Regions from separate parts of the Homo sapiens genome. Here all the other regions are linked to region 2. The links are contacts of gene promoters, found by promoter capture Hi-C in blood cells and fetal thymus (Javierre and others, 2016). All regions are on one chromosome and are shown on one strand. The core of a region is centred on a gene start or on the middle of the fragment in contact, and the rest is flanking DNA. Distances in the headings are between cores, read along the strand shown.

What was found. The method cuts DNA at HindIII sites, captures the fragments that hold promoters and counts their contacts. A CHiCAGO score of 5 or more calls a contact.
Region 1: a fragment that was not itself captured here is called in contact with the fragment with the promoter of LONRF1 in region 2 in 1 of 17 cell types (naive CD8 T cells); the score reaches 6.8 in naive CD8 T cells.
Region 3: a contact is called between a fragment that was not itself captured here and the fragment with the promoter of LONRF1 in region 2, in 1 of 17 cell types (naive CD8 T cells). The highest score is 13.4, in naive CD8 T cells.
Region 4: the fragment with the promoter of PRAG1 here is called in contact with the fragment with the promoter of LONRF1 in region 2 in 1 of 17 cell types (naive CD8 T cells); the score reaches 9.3 in naive CD8 T cells.
Region 5: a contact is called between a fragment that was not itself captured here and the fragment with the promoter of LONRF1 in region 2, in 1 of 17 cell types (M1 macrophages). The highest score is 7.0, in M1 macrophages.
Region 6: a fragment that was not itself captured here is called in contact with the fragment with the promoter of LONRF1 in region 2 in 4 of 17 cell types (total CD8 T cells, non-activated CD4 T cells, naive CD8 T cells and 1 more); the score reaches 10.3 in total CD8 T cells.
Region 7: a fragment that was not itself captured here is called in contact with the fragment with the promoter of LONRF1 in region 2 in 1 of 17 cell types (neutrophils); the score reaches 7.6 in neutrophils.

Annotation. Positions count from the first base shown.
Region 1 is chr8:8,322,671-8,325,370 of GRCh38, reverse strand. All of the region lies in intron 5 of PRAG1 (PEAK1 related, kinase-activating pseudokinase 1), which reads left to right. Among named protein-coding and RNA genes, the nearest start is that of PRAG1, 62 kb to the left of the region's middle. The HindIII fragment of the contact is 6,195 bases long and covers 1-2,700 here.
Region 2 is chr8:12,754,109-12,756,808 of GRCh38, reverse strand. LONRF1 (LON peptidase N-terminal domain and ring finger 1) reads left to right here and starts at 1,283. Exons shown (of 12, transcript NM_152271.5): 1 at 1,283-2,109. The coding sequence starts at 1,389. RefSeq lists silencers at 785-1,454, 1,535-1,874, 1,878-2,068, 1,965-2,504, 2,555-2,634 and 1 more and an enhancer at 990-1,809. The HindIII fragment of the contact is 11,195 bases long and covers 1-2,700 here.
Region 3 is chr8:8,340,578-8,343,277 of GRCh38, reverse strand. All of the region lies in intron 3 of PRAG1 (PEAK1 related, kinase-activating pseudokinase 1), which reads left to right. Among named protein-coding and RNA genes, the nearest start is that of PRAG1, 45 kb to the left of the region's middle. The HindIII fragment of the contact is 3,665 bases long and covers 1-2,700 here.
Region 4 is chr8:8,385,098-8,387,797 of GRCh38, reverse strand. It overlaps PRAG1 (PEAK1 related, kinase-activating pseudokinase 1), which reads left to right and starts at 1,359. Exons shown (of 6, transcript NM_001080826.3): 1 at 1,359-1,477. RefSeq lists a silencer at 977-1,656. The HindIII fragment of the contact is 9,968 bases long and covers 1-2,700 here.
Region 5 is chr8:8,295,190-8,297,889 of GRCh38, reverse strand. No RefSeq gene overlaps it. Among named protein-coding and RNA genes, the nearest start is that of FAM85B, 69 kb to the right of the region's middle. RefSeq lists enhancers at 1,080-1,991, 1,124-2,323, 1,992-2,700. The HindIII fragment of the contact is 287 bases long and covers 1,137-1,423 here.
Region 6 is chr8:17,157,148-17,159,847 of GRCh38, reverse strand. The region is part of intron 1 of ZDHHC2 (zDHHC palmitoyltransferase 2); the gene reads right to left. Among named protein-coding and RNA genes, the nearest start is that of ZDHHC2, 2.0 kb to the right of the region's middle. RefSeq lists a silencer at 2,548-2,700. The HindIII fragment of the contact is 982 bases long and covers 786-1,767 here.
Region 7 is chr8:17,256,807-17,259,549 of GRCh38, reverse strand. All of the region lies in intron 1 of VPS37A (VPS37A subunit of ESCRT-I), which reads right to left. Among named protein-coding and RNA genes, the nearest start is that of VPS37A, 11 kb to the right of the region's middle. The HindIII fragment of the contact is 5,442 bases long and covers 1-2,743 here.

The DNA.
Region 1 (2,700 bases), core at 173-2,672, 4.4 Mb after region 2:
TCAAGGACCGTCTCTGTGCCACGTGAAAAAGGAAAGTTGGAGACTAGCATCCAATATGCAGAGGATGGTAATTCTTGGAACAACGTTACCAGGAACAATATTAATTTGCAAATGTGCCTGGCCTGGTCATTGGGGGGGCGGGCCGTGGGGGCCCTGGAGCATCATTTCGCACGGGCAGCTGTTCCACTTCATTAGCTCTCCAGTCTAGACGAAATACAGTCATCTGGGGATCCGCAGGAGGGGGAGTGGGTCTCCCTTCCCAGCCAGCGAGCTGCCTGTCTGAGGCTGAGCGCATTTTATCTGCACATGTTAAACAGGGAGCCGGCACTGAAGGCAGACGGAGCCTCGTTTGCGGTCGCGGAGTCCTAGTTAACAATAGCAGGCTCACACCTGCTCCTTGCTGATGCTGGAACCTACTACTTTGGGCTCAGCGCCCTGCAGCAGTGAGGAGATAAAGCTGGTTCTTGTAGCTCCACCGCATGAATAGGTGACAGGAAAAAAAAAATCATTAGTTGTGTGTGCGTCTTCGAAGCAGTTTCATTTCTCAGCCATCTAGACAGAATTCTAGTTTGGTAATTAGGGCCCCGTTTTAAGCTGCTGGGCCTTTTTTATTTAACAGACATGATTTAGCCCAGACTTTCGCCCGTGAATGAGGCCCTGACTCCAAAGTTTAAATGAGTCCTGGCTCAGCAAAACGTTAGAAACTTGAGCTGAACCAAGAGTCTATGTAAAGTTCTAGAGCTAAAAATCCGAGTGCAGGGCCCCCTGAAAATGAAATGAGGTTGGTTGGGGGCAGGGAGTAGGGAGATGGAGATGGAGAAAAAGCCACTCCCTCCCCCACCGCCCCTTCCCCCACCCAGTGCTGTGGAATGATCTCCGGCGCGGGCCTACAGCTCACTCACAGGGCTAGTTAGCATGCGCCCAACGCAGCCTTCTCCGTTGCTGGCCTTTGAGGAAGCTGCGGGTCTTGCCAAAGGCCCAGTGCACTGATTTTGAAATGCATCCAGCCCAGTTGCCATTTACTCTGCTCCTTCATTTACATCTCTGTGCAAAATGTCAGCAGCCTGACTGGAGCTCCAGGCCTCAAGTGTTTGCTGGGCCCAGGCTTTTCATACCCCTGAGAAAAAGGAGCCTTGGAAACTCTTCCCAGGCCCCTGGGCAGCTGTGCTCTTCGGGTTTGCACAATACCTGCAGGCCAGCTCTGGATGCCTCCGCATCACCAGAGGGCTACAGCCGAGATGGCAAGAGCAGTCACCATAGCAACCTTCCCCATTGTGCTTGCCCTGGGCTGGGCCTGGCGCTGAGAGCCATGCCTGCATCATTTCATCTGATCCTCACAATGGCCCTACGAGGAAGGACTATCCCTGCCCCTGTCATTCAGAGGAGAAAACATGCTTTGAGATAAATACCGTCCATCTTCATTATTTATGGATTCTGTATTTGCAAAATCATCTACCCGCTCAAATTTATGTGTAATTCCAAAATCAATACTCGAAGCGCTTTCCAGTGATTTCTGGATACGTGTAAGGGAAGGAAAAATTTGAGTCACCTGATGTTTAGTTCTCACGATGCTAATAAAGACATACCTGAGACTGGGTAATTTACAAGGGAAAGAGATTTAATTGACTCACAGTTCAGCATGGCTGGGGAAGCCTCAGGAAACTTACAATCATGGTGAAAGGGGAAGCAAACACGTCCTTCTTCACATGGTGGCAGCAAGGAGAAGCCAAGCAAAAGGGGCAAAAGCAGCCAGGTGCAGTGGCTCATGCCTGTAATTCCAGCACTTTGGGAGGCCAAGGCAGGTAGATCACGAGGTCAGGAGTTCAAGACCAGCCTGGCCAACATGGTGAAACTTCATCTCTACTAAAAAATGAACAATACAAAAATTAGTCAGGTGTGGTGGTAGGCACCTGTAATCCCAGCCACTTGGGAGGCTGAGGCAGGAGAATCACTTGAAGCCAGGAGGTGGAGATTGCAGTGAGCCAAGATGCGCCACTGCACTCCAGCCTGGGCAACAGAGCAAGACTCTATCTCAAAAAAAAAAAAAAAGGGAGGGAAAAGAAAACCCCTTATAAAGCCATCAGATCTCATGAGAACTCACTCACTATCATGAGAACATCACCAGGTTCCTCCCACCACACGTGGGGATTATGAGAACTACAAGATGAGATTCGTTTGGGGACACAGCCAAACCATATCACCCAATGTGCATGTTTCCAGCTGAAGGGGAATGAGGCGACAGTCTCCCATCTTGTTTCAGCCCTCATCCTGGAAGCCAGGGTCATTTTTTGCAGTCTATTTAGTGTCTTGTTTTTCACATTTGTGTGCTTTTTGTTTGTTAATGAAAAGAGTCCAACTCTGTAAAATATTAGATTTATTCTGAGCCAAATATAAGTCACCTATGGCCCATGACACAGCCCTCAGGAGATCCTGAGACCATGTTCCCAAAGTGGTCAGGCCACAACTTGGTTTTGTACATTTTAGGGAGACACAGTTATCAATCAATACATGTATGATGTACATTGAAGTTGAGGGGGCCGGGGGAGCTTCCAAGTCGTCGGTGGATTCAAAGATTTTCTGATTGGCACTTGGTTGAGAGAGTTATTATCAATAGAAAGGAATGTCTGGATTATGAGAAGGGGTTATGGAGACCAAGACTTTATCATGCAGACGAAGCCTCCAGGTAGCAGGCTTGAGTGA
Region 2 (2,700 bases), core at 34-2,533:
ACACATGAACTCAAAACATTTTTTAGCCTTAATTGCCTGTTCCTTATAAAGAGAAATATTAAACGTTTACCAATTTCATACATAGCATGCTCAGGTGAACTTTCCAATTAGCAACTTCTTTTACTTTGAAAATCTCATATATTTCTATGAAATATTACATATTTTATTAAATATTACATATTAGTCTAACGTAGTAGTAGTGGAATAGACGTGATCTTAAAATCTGTATTAGCTGTGTGATTTTTGACAAATAACTTTCCCTGTGTTTCCAATCATTTGAAAAAGGACTAAAAGTCCTAAGTGACTTCCAACATTAGCGATCTAATACCCTATCATCAAATCTGTATTTTCAGCTGAGAGCTTTAAACTTGCTGCTGTGAAGTTTAAGGGAAATAGCACCCATTATATATCAACCCGATCATTTTCTTCTGTCAGCAAAACTGCAGAGCCAGCTTGGGTTGTAGTAATACGGTGACCGCCATGTGAAACATGTTTCTTGGTGTTTTCTTTTAAAACTGCCAAATATAGACCTTAACCAGCTGTAAGGCAGTGCTTGAGGTGTGGAGACACCTGAGGAAGCTGTGGGCTTTCTCCCTCGAGGTGGGCCCACGATGAGTTTTAAGCAAGACGGGCAAGCAGTCACCTGGCACCAGGAAAAACTCCTTGCCCTCTGGAGGGAGTCGCCCCAGGAACGTGGGTTTTTTGTTCATATTTAAAGTTGAGTCCTCTAGAACCGAAGAGTCCCAGTCATCTGCCGAAGGTGCGCTCCCAGGCCCCCTGCTTGGGCGCGCCCACCTGGAACATGGGCGTAGAGCTATGAAAATGCAGACCCGCACAAGCGCGAGGCCACGCGGGGAGACCCCCGCCCGCCAGGAGTTGGGGCAGGTCCGGCCTGGGCGGGGGCGTCGGGGGAGGGGTGGTGACCCGGAGTCCCGCGCGGCAGGGGAGCGTCCCCCAACCCCCGGCAGGGGCGAGGGCCACCGCAGGTGGCGGCGTTGGCAGACAGGCAAGCGGGGACTGAAGCTCCGGGGTCCTTCCGGCTTTGTTCCGTCACGAGCCGAGCCCTCCTTTCCGGAGAAGCCAATTAGATCTCCGACGGAGGAATCATCCGACCTGCGTCCCCCACCCGGAGGGGGCTCGGAAGGGGCGGGGCCCAGCGCTTGGCTCCTCGGGAGCGCGGCCGCGGGCGGCGTGGGGGAGTCCCGGGCGCCGTCGCCGAGCCCGGCCCCGCCCTCGCCAGGCCCCGCCCTCGGGGCTTCCCGGGCGCGCGCAGCCCCGCCGTGTCCGCGCGCCACGCCCCCCTGCTCGCGGGCCGCGTGCGGAGCCGCGCGCCCGGGAGGCTCCGGGACCGTGGCGGCGGGCGGCGGCGGCGCAGCCCTCCGCGGGCCATGTCCTCTCCGGCGGTGGCGAGGACCTCCCCAGGAGGGAGTCGGGAGATGGCCCCAGCGCCGCAGGGCCGAGGCCGGTTCTGGGAAGTGGGCGGCGGCAGCGGCCATCGGCTGGAGCGCGCGGCCGCGGAGTCGGAGCGCTGGGAGCTGCTGCTCCGCCGCGGGGAGCTGCTGGCGCTGGGCGGCCACCTGAAGGGCGCGCTGGAGGCGTTCGCGGCGGCGCTGCGCCGCGGGGCCCCGGCCAGGCCCGAGTGCCTGGGCGCCCTGGTGGACTGCCTGGTGTTCAACTACCGGCTCCGCCACGGGCTGGGCTGGAGCGCGGCCCCGGTTGCAGGCGCTGACGGCGGCGCCGGCGGGCTCCTCAGATGCCTGGGCTGCCGGGGCTTCCTGAGCGAGCCGGTGACCGTGCCCTGTGGCCACAGCTACTGCCGCCGCTGCCTGCGGAGGGAACTCCGCGCCCGCTGCCGCCTCTGCCGGGACCGGCTGCCGCCCGCCACCGCCAGTGCCACTGATGCTGAAGGGACCGCCCCGCGGCCGCCGCCTCTGGCCGCCGCCATCGCCGCTTCAGACTTCAGAACCAGCGTCGTCCTCAACCACCTGGCCGAGAAGTGGTTTCCGGGCCAGCGCGAGCGGGCCCGGGCGGCCGGCAGGCTCGGGGAGCTACTGCACCAGGGGCGCTACCGGGAGGCCCTGGCCGCCGCCTGCGAGGCGCTGCGAGCAGGTGACCGCGCGGGGATGCGGCGGGGCCGGGCCGACCGCACCCTCCTGGCCCCGAGGGCCGGGGACCCGGAGCTTGTCTGCGCCCCGAGAGTCTCCTCTGCTTCCCCGGGGCCGCTGGGCCGCTGGCGTGTCGGGTCTCGGGGTGCTGGGGGGTGTGGGAGGGGGCGGCGCCCCGGGGTGCTTCGGTCATAATGGGGATCGCCCTGGGAGCCGACTGTGACGCGGCGCGGGGAGGGGCGCTCGGCGCGGGGTTCCCTCGGCCGCGGCCTGGCTGTCGGGCGCGCGCTCCCGGCGCGGAGTGGGTGACCTGGACCGAGGCCGCCCCGGCGCGGGATGGGTGGTAGCTGGGCTATCCCGAGCGGCCGCTCGCTTCCTGCCGCGCGCTTTCCGGGAATTGGCTCTCGGGCCGGGCCCGCCGCGGGGAAACGACTGCCGGGGCGGGGAGAGAATCCCCCGCGAGGGCAACTAGGCCGGGCAGGCGGCGTCTCCCTTCCTCACCCACAAAAGTCACCGGGACAATTGGGAACCGCGGGAGGGCAGAATTGCATAAGCTGGGGGCGGGGGGCGTTGTGTAACGGGTGACGTCCGGTGG
Region 3 (2,700 bases), core at 79-2,578, 4.4 Mb after region 2:
TCACAAACAGTGTGAGAGAGTTCCTATTTCCCTATATCTTTAACAAAATCTGACGTTGTCAGTCTGATCTGATGGGTATGAAATGAAATCTTGTTTTATTTACAATCTGATCATTCATAATTTTAATAATCTTTTCATGTGTTGAGTGGCCTTTCTTGTTTCATTTGTGAGTTGCCTGTTCATTTCCATTTTAAAAATGGGGTCATTTGTCTGTTTCTTAGATTTATAGGCACTCTTTTTTATTCTGCCTACCAGTACTTTATTAGTAATGCGGGTTGCAAAGATGTGAGTTGGCCACTCCAAGGTTTGTTTTTTTTCACTTTTTAATGGTGACTTTTATGTTATGAGGCAGAAGTTTTAAATTTTAAAGTAGTCAGATTTATCTTTTTCTTTATATTGCTATTTTTTAGCCCTTATTTTAAAAATTATTTCCTACCCCAAGTTCATAAAGTTTTCTCGTTATTTTTTCTGATGAATTTAAAATTTAATGGGTGTTTCTTTTCTGTTGAAAATTCGTGTTTCTACACGGTATGAGATATGGCTCTACTTTCTTTTTTTCTTCACATCATAAATAGCTGGTGTAAGTACCATGAATTGACTTGTTAATCCTCCAGTCTGTTTCTTGGGTCTGTGTCCTGGAAATGTTGGTCCTAGATTTATCAGAACCAGATCTTTACTGATCTCATTTATACAGCAACTGGTCCTTGATGGTTTTACAGGGTAGTTTTCGCAATCTTTCAGAGAACACATAATGTTTCTCTTATAAAAATTACCTGAGATAAGGCCGGGCGCGGTGGCTCACTCCTGTAATCCCAGTACTTTGGGAGGCCGAGGCGGGCAGATCACGAGGTCAGGGGGTCGAGACCATCCTGGCTAACACGGTGAAACCCCGTCTCTACTAAAAATACAAAAAAATTAGCGGGGCGTGGTGGTGGGCGCCTCCTGTAGTCCCAGCTACTCGGGAGGCTGAGGCAGGAGAATGGCGTGAACCCGGGAGGCGTAGCTTGCATGAGCCAAGATGGTGCCACTGCACTCCAGCCTGGGCAACAGAGCAAGACTCCATCTCAAAAAAAAAAAAAAAATTACATGAGATAATTGAAAAAGTGAAAGTTACTCAATTCATTTTATAATTCCTTTTCTTTTTTTTGAGACACAGTTTCACTCTGTCACCCAGGCTGGAGTGCAATGGCACCATCTCGGCTCACTGCAACCTCCGCCTCCTTGGTTCAAGCGATTCTACTGCCTCAGTCTCCCAAGTAGCTGGGATTACAGGCGCAGGCCACTATGCCTGGCTAATTTTTGTATGATTAGTAGAGATGGGGTTGGCCTGTTGGCCAGGCCGGTCTCGAACTCCCTACCTCAAGTGATCTGCCCGCCTTGACCTCCCAAAGTGCTGGGATTACAGGAGGGAGCCACCGTATCCGGCCGTCATTTTATAATTCTATTTTAACCTTTATATCCAAATTGGACAAGGACAGGACAAGAAAGAAAAATTATGGGCTAGCCTCTATTTGAATGTAAATGTAAAAATCTTAAACTAAATATGAGTAAAACTGAATCCAGCAATGTGTAGTAAAATAAGTTCATACAACATGTGCAAGGATGGCTTAATTAAGAAAAGCTATTAACATAACTCATCACATTCACAGAGTAAAGGAGAAACATGATATGATTTTTTTCCCATAGATGTAGAAAAGGCATTTAATAAACCCTAATAGCCAAAAATGATTTTGAAATACAAAACCTTAGAAAACTTGAAATAGAAATAAACATCCTTAGCCTGATAAAGTGCGTCTACTGAAATCTGTAGTAAATATACGCTTAGTATTGAAGGATCCCTTGTACTGCCTGTGTGTGGAGTTCCCTCTTTGTATCTGGCACCTGAGAATTGTTCTTTCTTTTAATCTTGGCTGTTACTTTAAGTAAGTATGTGTGTGTGTGTGCATATGTATATGAATATATATATATGCTCATACATACACATGTTTATGTATTTTTTGGTTTTGTCTATTTACATACATTTCATGAAGTTTGTGGAGTGGGAAGCTGTGCCAGCTCTGTAGCCATGGTGCTGTAGTTTCTCCCTTAGTGATTTTCTGGGCCTGAAGACCAAGAAACTCTAGAAACCACTTTGGAAGGGGCAAAGTAGGGGATAGCCACAGAGCTGGCTCTGGCTTCTCTCCTAGACTGAGGAGTTGTTATGCATGACTTCATATCCTGGCTTCCCTTGGAGAAAACTATTAGTGATAGATCTGATGTGGATATAAGAATATTGTATGAAACTGTCTGATTTTATTTTGCCAGGAGATTAGGCAAGGATCAGCTACTGCCATAGCATTTCCTAAGGAATTGATATTTCCAAGGTTCCCACAGCGATACTGAGATACAAAGATGAAGATTAGTCATAATGTTGCCTTCACTGTCACATTTTTTTTTTTGACAGATTTAACACAGTTTAAAAGTACGATTCTAAGGGTTGGGAGTGGGGAGAGGGACGTGTTTTCAAGGAGCACTTTTTGTGGTAGCGAACAAACTTTAAACCCTCCTGTTGATACACAGGGGATTCCCGTGACTATGAAAATTAAAACAGGGCCTGGCAATGTTGAACACAAAGAACAGCCAATAAATTCTTGACCGTAAGGTCATGCGCATTAAATAAGGCAGTTCTGATGCCAAATCAGTACTGTACTGTATATTTCC
Region 4 (2,700 bases), core at 110-2,609, 4.4 Mb after region 2:
AGGTCCTTAAGGAATGTCCATTGCACTCCCATCCCTCTACAGCTTCCCCCAGATTCTGTCCTCTTAGGAGGCATGGGTGTCACTGGAACATGAGGAAGAATTCCCTGGATCCTTTTTTCCCTTTCCTCACACAGAAGCCAAACCTCAAATACACATCTTCCCTCTCTGTCCACACCCACAGCAGCAAAGAGGAGAGCCAGGGATCTGGGGGTGGGGGTGGGGGCCCATCTTCCTCCTCTCAGTGGGTGGGGGCTCGCAGGCTGACTGGCAGAGGACCTTCACTGGAGTCAAAATAAACTGCCTTCCTGGGGAGGGGATAGAGGGCGAGAGAAGCCGCAGGTATTGTTTTGTGGGGGAGGGGGGTCCTCTTCCTATTCCATTTCACTGAATTCTTCCCACCCGGCATGGCCCTGGGAGGTGACCATAGCCCTGGCTCCCCGAGTAAACACCCAGGTCAAGCTACAGGACTGACTGGGTCTTAAGCTATTATACTCCCAGTGAAAAGATTTTTTTAGCCCGAGGACTATCTCGAACTCGTTCTATCTCAGTGAATGACTCACTGGAAACGGTGTAAACACAGGTGTATTACTGGCCTGCGGAAGACTTGGATGTCCCAGCATGGTAGAAGGCCAGGTCCCTGCAGTGCAACGCTTGCATTCTACATCCAGAAAACTAAAGTTCAAAGAGGTTAAGCAATTTGCCAGAATCCTGCAGTCCAGGGACTGAGCGGAACCTGGAATCCGCCACCGGGACTTCCAGCCCTGCTCCCTCCGGCGCCACCCTCTTCCCAGAGGTAGGGAGAGCTGAGGCTCGCTGTGCTCACGTGGCTTTCAGAGCCCGCCTCGGACCCTGACCTGTATTCCACTCCCGACCCCACACTTCCTCGTTTCCCCTTCCTTCTCCCTCTCTTCCCAGGGTCCCGCAGGGCCGGCTGGATGAAGTGATGCCGGGCACCTATACACGCATGATGGCAAAAGGAGGATTGCAACGCCAGAGCTCGCCCCTCCAGAGCTGTGCAGGGTCCCCACCGAGGAGGGGGTGCAAACGGGTGCTGGGCTCGGGGGTCAGCCCGCGCCAAGTCTGGGGCTGGGGGCGGAGCCTGCCGGTCCGGGGCGGGAGGGTGGGCAAGAGAGGGAGTCCCGGGGCCTGGAGACTTTGGAGGAGTCGGGGCCCTGGGGGTAGGAGACCGCCGGGTGGGAGCGGCAGGCGCAAGCCGGGCGGCGGGGCGCGCGGGCCAGGCGGGGCCGGGCGGCGGCAGGGACTGCGGAGGTGCGGCGTGAGCTGGGGCGGGCGGCGTCACCGGAGGCGGAGGGGGCGGAGCCGCGCTCACAGCTGCCACCCGGCCGCCGGGCCCAGGCAGAAGCCACCCGCCCGCGGCCGGGCACGCACCGCGCGCAGACCTTCTGCGAACAATGCTCCGGCCGGGCGGCTGGCGGCTCGGAGACCGACGGAGGGGCCGGGGGAGCGCAGCCCAGAGGTGAGCCCGCGACGCGCTCTCCAAATTCGGCCTCTTTTTGTCTGGCGAGCGTGGTCGCAGAGGGGAGCTTTGGAGGGGCGCTGCGATCGCCGAGCGGGCTACCCCCGGGGTGACAGGCGACCGCTCGGGAAGTGGGCAGTGCCGGGGCCGCGTGAGCCCCGGGTGGTGCCCGAGGTGCAGGGAGGCGCCCGGCCGGGAGGACCGAGGAGCTGGAGGGTGTTTTTGATTCATTCGAGAATCGCGCTCTTTAAAACGGGGAAACTTTCCTACGAGTTCCAGGAGGGAGGACCGACTGTTAGGATGGTTTCTCTGGTCTTGCTGCTCTGTCTGCGGCCGGAGGCTGAAGCGCTTTGAGGACTGCTTTCCACCGCTAGAGTATTGTCAAGGGGGAGAGACGGAAGGCCGCCTGGCTGCTGGGACCAGGACCCGGGGGGATGGTTTGGGGGTGCAGGGTATGCAGCAGCGGGGCTCCAGAGGCAACGAGATGATGCCCTTTTCCCCGAGCCCTGGCTGAGCCCTCTGAAACGCATGCTGTGAGCACGTTATTAACCTTTGCTGGTATCCGGGGACACACACACTTAGAACATAGAATCCTCTGCTGGGCATGGAGGCGGCCGGGCATTCGCAGCGGAGAGCGCCAGCTCACGGTGTGTGCGTTTCTCTCAGGTAAGCTCTCCCTGCACATGGTTTTGCAGAGCCGATAGCAAAGCCCAATGGTCTAGGGGCGAGGAGTTTTGGCGATGCATTCAGTGCGGAGTCAGGCTCAGAAGGCTTTCCTGATCACTGGCCTGAACTATTCTTAACAACTCCTCTCCCCTTCCCTTTCTGAGAAGAAAATTTGACAGAAAGCCCTAGGGAATTCCGCAGTTATTTTTCTCTCCTGAGGTCTGGTTGGTTTCGACTGTAGTGGGTGCAAAACCACATTCCTCCCTCTGAGATTTTCTTTCCTCCAGCACTGGAGGAAGAAAAAAGAAAAGGAAAAGTTGGGTGAATATCGTAATTTACCCTCTGCGTGAGTAGGGAGGCAGGGGGCTAGTGGGTGGTAAAGTTGTCACTTTCTCCTTTCTGCCTGGTCAGCCCTGGCCAGTGGAGTGTGCTGAAGTTCAGACACTTTCCACACATATTTCTTTCCTTTTACTGGCGTTGCATTAATTTAACTGTAACATACAGAAAAAAATTTTAGGTGAATGTTTTCTGCAATTCTGTCACTTCAGAATAAGGCA
Region 5 (2,700 bases), core at 31-2,530, 4.5 Mb after region 2:
AGACTGGGTAATTTAGATAGAGAAACATGTTTATTTGGCTTACAATGCTGGTGTCTGAAAAAGTCCAAGTTTGGGCATCTGCATCGGTGAGGGTCTCAGGTTGCTTCCACTCTTGGTGGAAGTTGGAGGGGAGCCAGCGGGTGCAGAAATCACATGGAGAGGGAAGAAAAGAGAGAGAGGAAGCGCCAGGCTCTTTTAAACAACCAGTTCTTGCAGGAACTAATAGAGAACTCACTCACAACCCCCTACAGGGAGGTTATGAATCTGTTCATGAGGGATCTGCCCCAGGACTCAGCACCTCCCGTTAGACCCCACGTCCAACATTGGAGATCAAATTTCAACTTGAGGCTTGGACAAACATCCAGACTATATCAAGTCTTTGTATTTAGCTAACACTTTGCTTCCAGAGGCTAAGCCTTTCTCAAGATCGCCAAACAGCTTACTTTAGGAGAGGTTTTCTTGAATTTTAGCATGAGTTTTCCCCTGAGAATGAACCCTCTGCTGTAGCTAGCGGTCCTTTCTTCTTTCCTCTTCTCACATTATCTTTCTCTCTCGCCCTCTTTGGCCTTCTCTTGATTTCCAGCTGCTCTTTGTCTCAACCCATTATTCCATGAGTGGGGAGACATTTCCGCTTATTAAAATCCCTCCCCCAGAGTTCCCCTAATCCAGAGGAATTATCCAGCTGAGCCAGCCGCCCTGTCTGGGTGCTCAGCCCTCAAAGGGGTCTGTGCATTTTCTGAGCCTGCTCACCTTCCTAAGTAAAGCTATGAACTGGAAATCCTAACCCCAACAGCTAAAGTCTGGAGAGGAATTTATTTCCCACAGTTGGTCTTTCCTGGCCATTTATCAGGTCATTCCAAGTCTTGCTTTAGCAAACTGAACCCTCGTGATTTTTTTTTTACTAAGATGCCACCACCACGTCAATGTTTATATTTCCTCTGTGTCCTTCTGGGAGGTGGCAGGAGATAGCATTAGCTCCATTTCAAATCAGAAAGAAACTGGAGGACATCAAAGTCCCCACATCATGTGGTTTATACAACTCAGAGGCTAAGGAAAGACCTAAATTTTAAGTGTTCTATTCAAAGCATCATCTTAAATCAGTAGGCTTCACTGTGTTATTTGAACCAATCTAAGCTTTTCCATTGCCCATAAGAGGGCTCTTTCCTCATATCTGTACTGGGATTTTCAGCATAGACCCATAAACATGGAGAAGGTCCCCACCACCACCTTTTGCTTTCCTGGTGTTCTTCCAAGCCTGGCTGAAGGCAGAGGCTCCTTTGGCGGCCCGTTTTCAGCACACAGGGGCCTGGGAATAAGAAAATGTCCTGTTGCTCTACAGAGGACGCAAACAGTGGATCAGGATCCCCATAGCCTTGCTCCGGTGACTCACCCTTCCTGGTCTGTGGGCGCCTCTGAGTAAGCTTTGTCTTGCTGCTCTGCAGAAGTCTCTGAGAAGGTATGACTTGCTGAGTTCCTAGGAAAACTGCCTACCCTTAGAAAGTGGATGTGAGAAGGAAAGCAGCAAGCCGGGAGCAGTCACGCACTGGTGTCCCCAGTGCCCCTGCGGCCCAGGGCGGAGGTGACTGCTGAAGTCAGCCTCCTGGAATGCCTCCAGGTAACCCTCCCTCCCTATCAAGGTCAATGAGTCAGAGGATAGGAGAGAAGCCGTGAGTAAAACTGCACACCAGGTGAAAGAAAGGGAGGAAAGCCGCATGGACCCTCCACTCCCAGCAGAGAACAGGGGGTGAGTCACTCAGCTCCGCTCCAGGGCACAGGGCAGGACTCTCGGCTCAAGGCTTCATCCAGCGAGTCCAGCATATTCTCCTCTTCAAACAAATGGAAACTTTCTGCTGCTCCATGATGGGATCACTCTTTCTGGGCTCCTTGGGAGCAAGTGAGAGGAAGCCCTTACCTGCACCAGCAGCCTCCATAAGGAAGGGAGCATCCGATCAGAGGTGAACAACGGGAGGCAGTGTCTCGCCCCGGCACATGGGGTCAATCTACAAATATTGATTCAGAGACATGAAAAATGGGAGTTTTGCACGGGAAGCACTTTCCAGAGATCTCACTCTCCAGTCTTTGCAGAGTCACATTTTCTCAACAGAATGGGTTAGAACTAAAAAAAAAAGGTGCTTGCTCAGAAATGGCACTGATGGCTCAGCACTTCCATTTATTTTATTTTATTCCATTTTGTTTTCTTTGATCTCACCTTTCCTTTGAGGTACGTCCAAAGAGAAGACTGGCAGCTGAGAGAAGATGATGGTGACCCTGATGGTGGAATATGGTTTGTGACCCAAAAACCAGTAGTTTCCACACAGGTGGCACAGCCCTTCCTAAGTGGGCTCCAGGGCCATGGACCTGAGGCCACAGGCCAAGGTGAGGCTGTGGGGGTCCCACACTGCAGCTGAACAGTGAGGCTGCCTGGAGCCCTGGCATGGTGCCCAGGGTTCTAAAGCCACTGCTGTGAACAGGGTAGATCATCCAGGAGAGCGCCCAGAGGTGGGGAAACAGGCCTGCAGCAGGCGGGGACATCAGCTGGCCTTGCTGTCCTTTGATTCTCACAGTTACTGCTTTTTGTTCAAATGTTACCTTATTTTTAATTTTATTTTTTTAGGGACAGGATCTCTCCTTGTCGCCCAGGCTGGAGTGTAGTGGCACAATCTTGGTTCACTGCAGCCTTGAACTCCCAGGCTCAAGAGA
Region 6 (2,700 bases), core at 27-2,526, 4.4 Mb before region 2:
AGGGGGAGGAATACAAATAGAAGAGCCTCGTTAATCAACAAACGAGATAAACGTGGTCCAAATGATTAGAAGTATAACTGTCTTTTGTGATCTTTTCTTTGGCAGAATAGGAAGCTGACTTAACCAAAAATACTTGACTCTCACACAATATATGTACATCCCATATATTTTACATATACACATATTCCAAAAAGAGAGGTTATTTTTATAAAATACAAACACTAAGCAAAAATTATGCTAACTGAAAAAGTGCCTAGAGAGCCACATACATCCACGTTGTTAAATATAGAAACTAACTGTAATGAGAATCATTATCTCCAGTTTCCAAGGATACCAGGATAAGCACTACTCCTAAATTGCAGTTCATTCAGCAAAGGGCACAGAATAATTTATATTCAGGGTCATCCCTAGCTGAGAGCAGATGTGGAAGGAGGACCAGGGTAAATCACCTTGTTTCTTCTATTCCATTTGCTACCTGATCCAGTTCCCAGCCCTCGACCCCCACACTCTGGTCCCAACCTTGGCCAATGTTTTATGGAAGAAATTTGGAAAATCTGCTTGTAAATGGCAACTTCCAAGAGAAAAAGAATCTTCAAAGGGCAGGGCAGTCTGAGATGTGATTAATACTGGGGGTAGGGTGGGGGCTGGTATTTCCATTTGCTTTGTCTGTGAAAAGGAAAGGAGTCTGGGAGTCTGGTTTTGTGTGTCAGTCACACTAGTCGCCATCTTTCCCAGTGCCTATAAGGAAATTTCAACTTCCCACTCGACCAAGGCTATGCAAAGCTTGCCACTCATAAACTGCCATGGTCTCTAGAATCAAATTCAGCTTCAACTTGTTCTTCCTTCTTAGACTCTAGAATCTAGATCTTTCATAACAATTACTTTTTGTTTCTACAGCAATAAAAATATAAAAGCTACTTTCTGAAAACCTAGGAGATAGTGCCTCTGAATCATTTATTTGTTTATTCAAGACCACTTACTGTTGTTTTCAATGTGGCAGGCATTGCGCCAGGCCAGGCAGACAGGCATTACGCCAGGCAGACAGGCATTGCGCCAGGCAGGCAGGGACAAGAAGTGATAGATAAGGTATCAATAACAGGCCACGCCACTTAGGCAGTTTAAAAAGAGGCATTCTTCCTCTTAGTCAAATCGTCACTTACTAAAATACTGATGCGGATTTTATGGATACTCTAGATTTGTCTTAAACTTACAGAAAGTACATATAAACATACGATTCAGATATAATACCAATTTTCCATTTAGTTCCTTCCCCATCACCTGTCTACCCAATACAATAATAAGATCTGCCATATAGCACCTCAGCTAGGAGCAGACATCCTTCTAACGGGCAGAAGAGCTCTCTCTGCCTTCAAATGCTTCCTCTTAATGGACAGGAGACACTGTACCAAGATAAGCGTCTTAGCTTAATGTGATAATACAGGAGAATAGGCTATTTTGATAATGAAGGCCTTCTAGGATGTCCCTTCTTTGCAGGTTATATTAATCGATACTGGTCACTGTTTTTAAGAGGACGAAGGAATGAAACACAACAAAGGTTCCCAACAGTTACGTAACATATACAGTCTATCTCAATAAGGCAAGCTATTTTAAGATTAACAGTTAATACAAAATTTACTACACGTCCTTTCCTATATATTTTAGATGACTTGACGACTGCATACCTAAATGCATCCTCATGATAATGCCTGTACAGCCTCATCTTTTCCCAACAACAGACTCAAGGTTTTTTTTTTGGACTATTAAGCTTGTTTCTAAATCCCTTCAAGTAATAACAGCAAATTTTAAAACTATATGAAATAAAAGTCTCGGTTCTCTTACAACTTACATCAGTGATTATTTTGATGTATTATTATGACACTTTCTCACAAGGCGCAACATTTTGAGGTAAGATGGCTTCAGACAAGATTTTATGTCTGAATCTTGAGGCTTTGAAAATGCTGAGCTTGTGAAGGCTCAATATAATAGGCCACTATTTCATCTTTTCCCTCGTCCCACCCAAAGCTAGCACTTGGTAGGGCAAAAACAGACACTTTGTTAGGTGGAGCACCAAACACAGAAAGCATTCACAAGTCACTGGCAGAAAGGTCATTTTCTGTTTTAACATCTTTTTCTGATAACCCAGATCAGTTTTCATAAAACCCCTGAAGGTAGAAACCAGCTTACATTAAGCGACATCATTGTACTCCCTACTTGTGCATAATAATCAACTTTTTAAAAAATTTTAATCTTCAGCATTAAAAGTATCCTACCCACCAATTCAGGAACCTCGAACTCGGACTGGAGCCACTTCGCTCTCTGGATGTAAAAACCTCAGACGATCACCTCTTTTTTTCTCTCCCTACTGTTCAAACACCTAAATTATGGTTTAGTGTGTTGCACATGTCCTCAAAAATACTTTCTAGTAGCTCACCTCCTCCACATCCTTTTAAACTAGAAAAGTGTCCAACTGGCAATCCTCAAATCATAAAGGCAGCAAAAACGCCCCTGAGCGCTGTCACAAATTTTTAACAAGTGCATTGACGCCAACCAGCAAGGGATCCAGCTCCGCCGCCAAGGCCAGCACCCCCGCGCGGGTCTGGCGCAGCTCGGGGCCGGGCCCAGCTCAGCCCTTCAGCCCCCGGCGCGCCTCGCCGGCCTCGGCCTCCCCTCTCCACAGCGGTCCCGGGGACCTTCCGCCCC
Region 7 (2,743 bases), core at 6-2,505, 4.5 Mb before region 2:
GCTGCAGAATATGTTCTTTTCATCAGCACATGGAACATTCTCCAGAACAGAACATATCTTAGGCCAGAAAACAAGTCTGAACAAACTCAAAGAAATCAGAAATTACATCAAGTATGTTTTCTGACCACAATGCAATAAAACTAGAAAACAATAACAAGAGGAACTTCAGAAACTACACAACCACGTGGAAATTAAACATGCTACTGAACAGCCAATGGGGTGACAAAGAAATTAAAAAGTAAATTTTAAAAAGTCTTCAAACAGATGAAAATGGAAATAGAACACACCAAAATCTATGGGATAAAGCAAAAGTGATACAAAGAAGAAAGTTTATAGCAATAAATGACTGTATCAAAAAAGTAAAAAGACTTCAAATAAACAACCCAATTATGCACTTTGATGAACTAGAGAAGAACCAAACCTAAAAGGAGAAAAAATATAAATATCAGAGCAGAAATCAATGAAGTTGAGACCAAAAATACAAAAGATCAAGAAAATGAAAAGTTGGTTATTTGAAAAGATAAAATCATCAAGCCTTTAGCTAGATGAACTAGGAGAGAAGACCCAAATAAATGAAGTCACAATGAAAAAGAAGATGTGACAACTGAGACCACAGAACTATAAAGAATCATTAGGCACCACTATGAATTATATGCTAAAAAACTGGAAAGCCTAAAAGAAAGGAACAAATTGCCGGACATATACAACCTACTAAGATTAAACCATGATAAAATAGAAAACTTCAATAAGCCAATAATAATGAGATTAAAGCCATAATAAAAAGTCTCACATCAAAGAAAAGCTGAGGACCTGATAGCTTCGCTGGTGAATTCTACCAAACACTTAAAGAACTAATAACAATTCTACTCATGCTTCAAAAAAATTGAAGAAGGACTACTTCCAAACTCATTCTACAAGATCAGCATCACCCATAGAAACAAGAAAAAAGAAAACTACAGGCCAATATTACAGATTAACATACATACAAAACTCCTGAACAAAATACTAGCAAACCAAATTCGACAAAACATTAAAAAAGATCATTCACCATTATCAGGTGGTATTACCCCAGGAATGCAAGGACAGTGCAATATATATGCAAATCAATAAATGTGATATATCCATTAAGAGAACCAAGAACAAAAAACAAATGATTGTTTCAACAGATGCTGAAAAAGCACTCAATAAAATCCTTTGTGATTACAACCCTCATCGAACTGGGTATAGAAGGAATATACATCAAAATAATAAAGGCCATATATAACAAACCACAGTTGACATTATAGTGAATGTGGAAAAACTGAAGGCCTTTCCTCTAAGATCTAGAATAAGACAAGCATGCCCACTTTCAAACTTTTATCCAATATAATAGTGGAAGTCTTGGCCAGAGCAATTAGGCAAGAGATAGAAATAAACAGCATCTAAAATGGAAAAGAGAAGTTAAATTAGCCTTGTTCGCGGATGACACAATGTTACGACTGGAAAAACCTAAAGACCCCACCAAAAAAACAGACAAACAAAAAACCTGTTAGAAATGATAAACCAATTCAGTAAAGTTGCAGGATACAAAATTAACATACAAAAATTAGTGGCATTTACATATGCTAACAATAAACAATCTAAAGAAAAAAGTAATCCTAGTTACAATAGTTACAAAGAATATAAAATACCTAGCAAACAATTTTACCTAAGAAGTGAAACATCTAAACAAGGAAAACTATAGAACACTGATGAAAGAAATTGAAGAGGACATGTACAAAAAAAATGGAAACATATTCCATGCTTGTGGCTGGAGGAATAAATACTATTAAAATGACAATACTACCCAAAGCAAATTACAGATTTGGAGCAATCCCTAGCAAAATACCAATGACATTCTTCACAGAAATAGAAACAATCACAATTTTTTTACAAATTATACTTTAGGTTCTGGAGTACATGTGCAGAATGTGCAGTTTTGTTACATAGGTATACACGTGCCATGGTGGTTTGCTGCACCCATCAACCCGTCACCTACATTAGGTATTTCTCCTAATGCTATCCCTCCCCTAACGCCCCCTGACAGGCCCCGGTGTGTGATGTTCCCCTCCCTGTATCCATGTGTTTTCACTGTTCATAATCCTAATATTTATATGGACTCACAAGACCCTGAATAGCTGAAGCAACTCTGAGCAAAAAGAACAAGGTTGGAGGCATCACACTATCTATCCAGCTTCAAAATTTACTGCAAAGTTATAGTAACCAAATCACATGCTACTGGCCTAAAAACAAACACACAGACCAATGGAGCAAAACAAGGAACCCAAATATAATTTACAGCCAACTCATCTTAACAAAAGCACCAAGAACATACAACGGAGAAAGGATGATGTTTTCAATAAACGGTGCTGGGAAAATTGGGTAACTATATGCTGAAGAATGAAACTAGACCCTATCTCTTACCATACACAAAAATCAAATAAGAATGGATTAATGACTTAAATCTAAGACCTGAAACTATGGAACTACTAGAAGAAAACATTGAGGAAATGCTTCAGTACATTGTTCTAGGCAAACAATTTTGTGTAAGACCTCAAAAGCACAGGCATCTAAAGCAGAAACAGATAAATGGGATTACATCAAGCTAAAAACCTACACAGTGAGGCCAAGGCAGGCCGATCATCTGAGGTCAGGAGTTTGAGACCAGCCTGACCAACATGGAGAAACCCTGTCTCTACTAAAGATACAAAATTAGCCGGGTGTG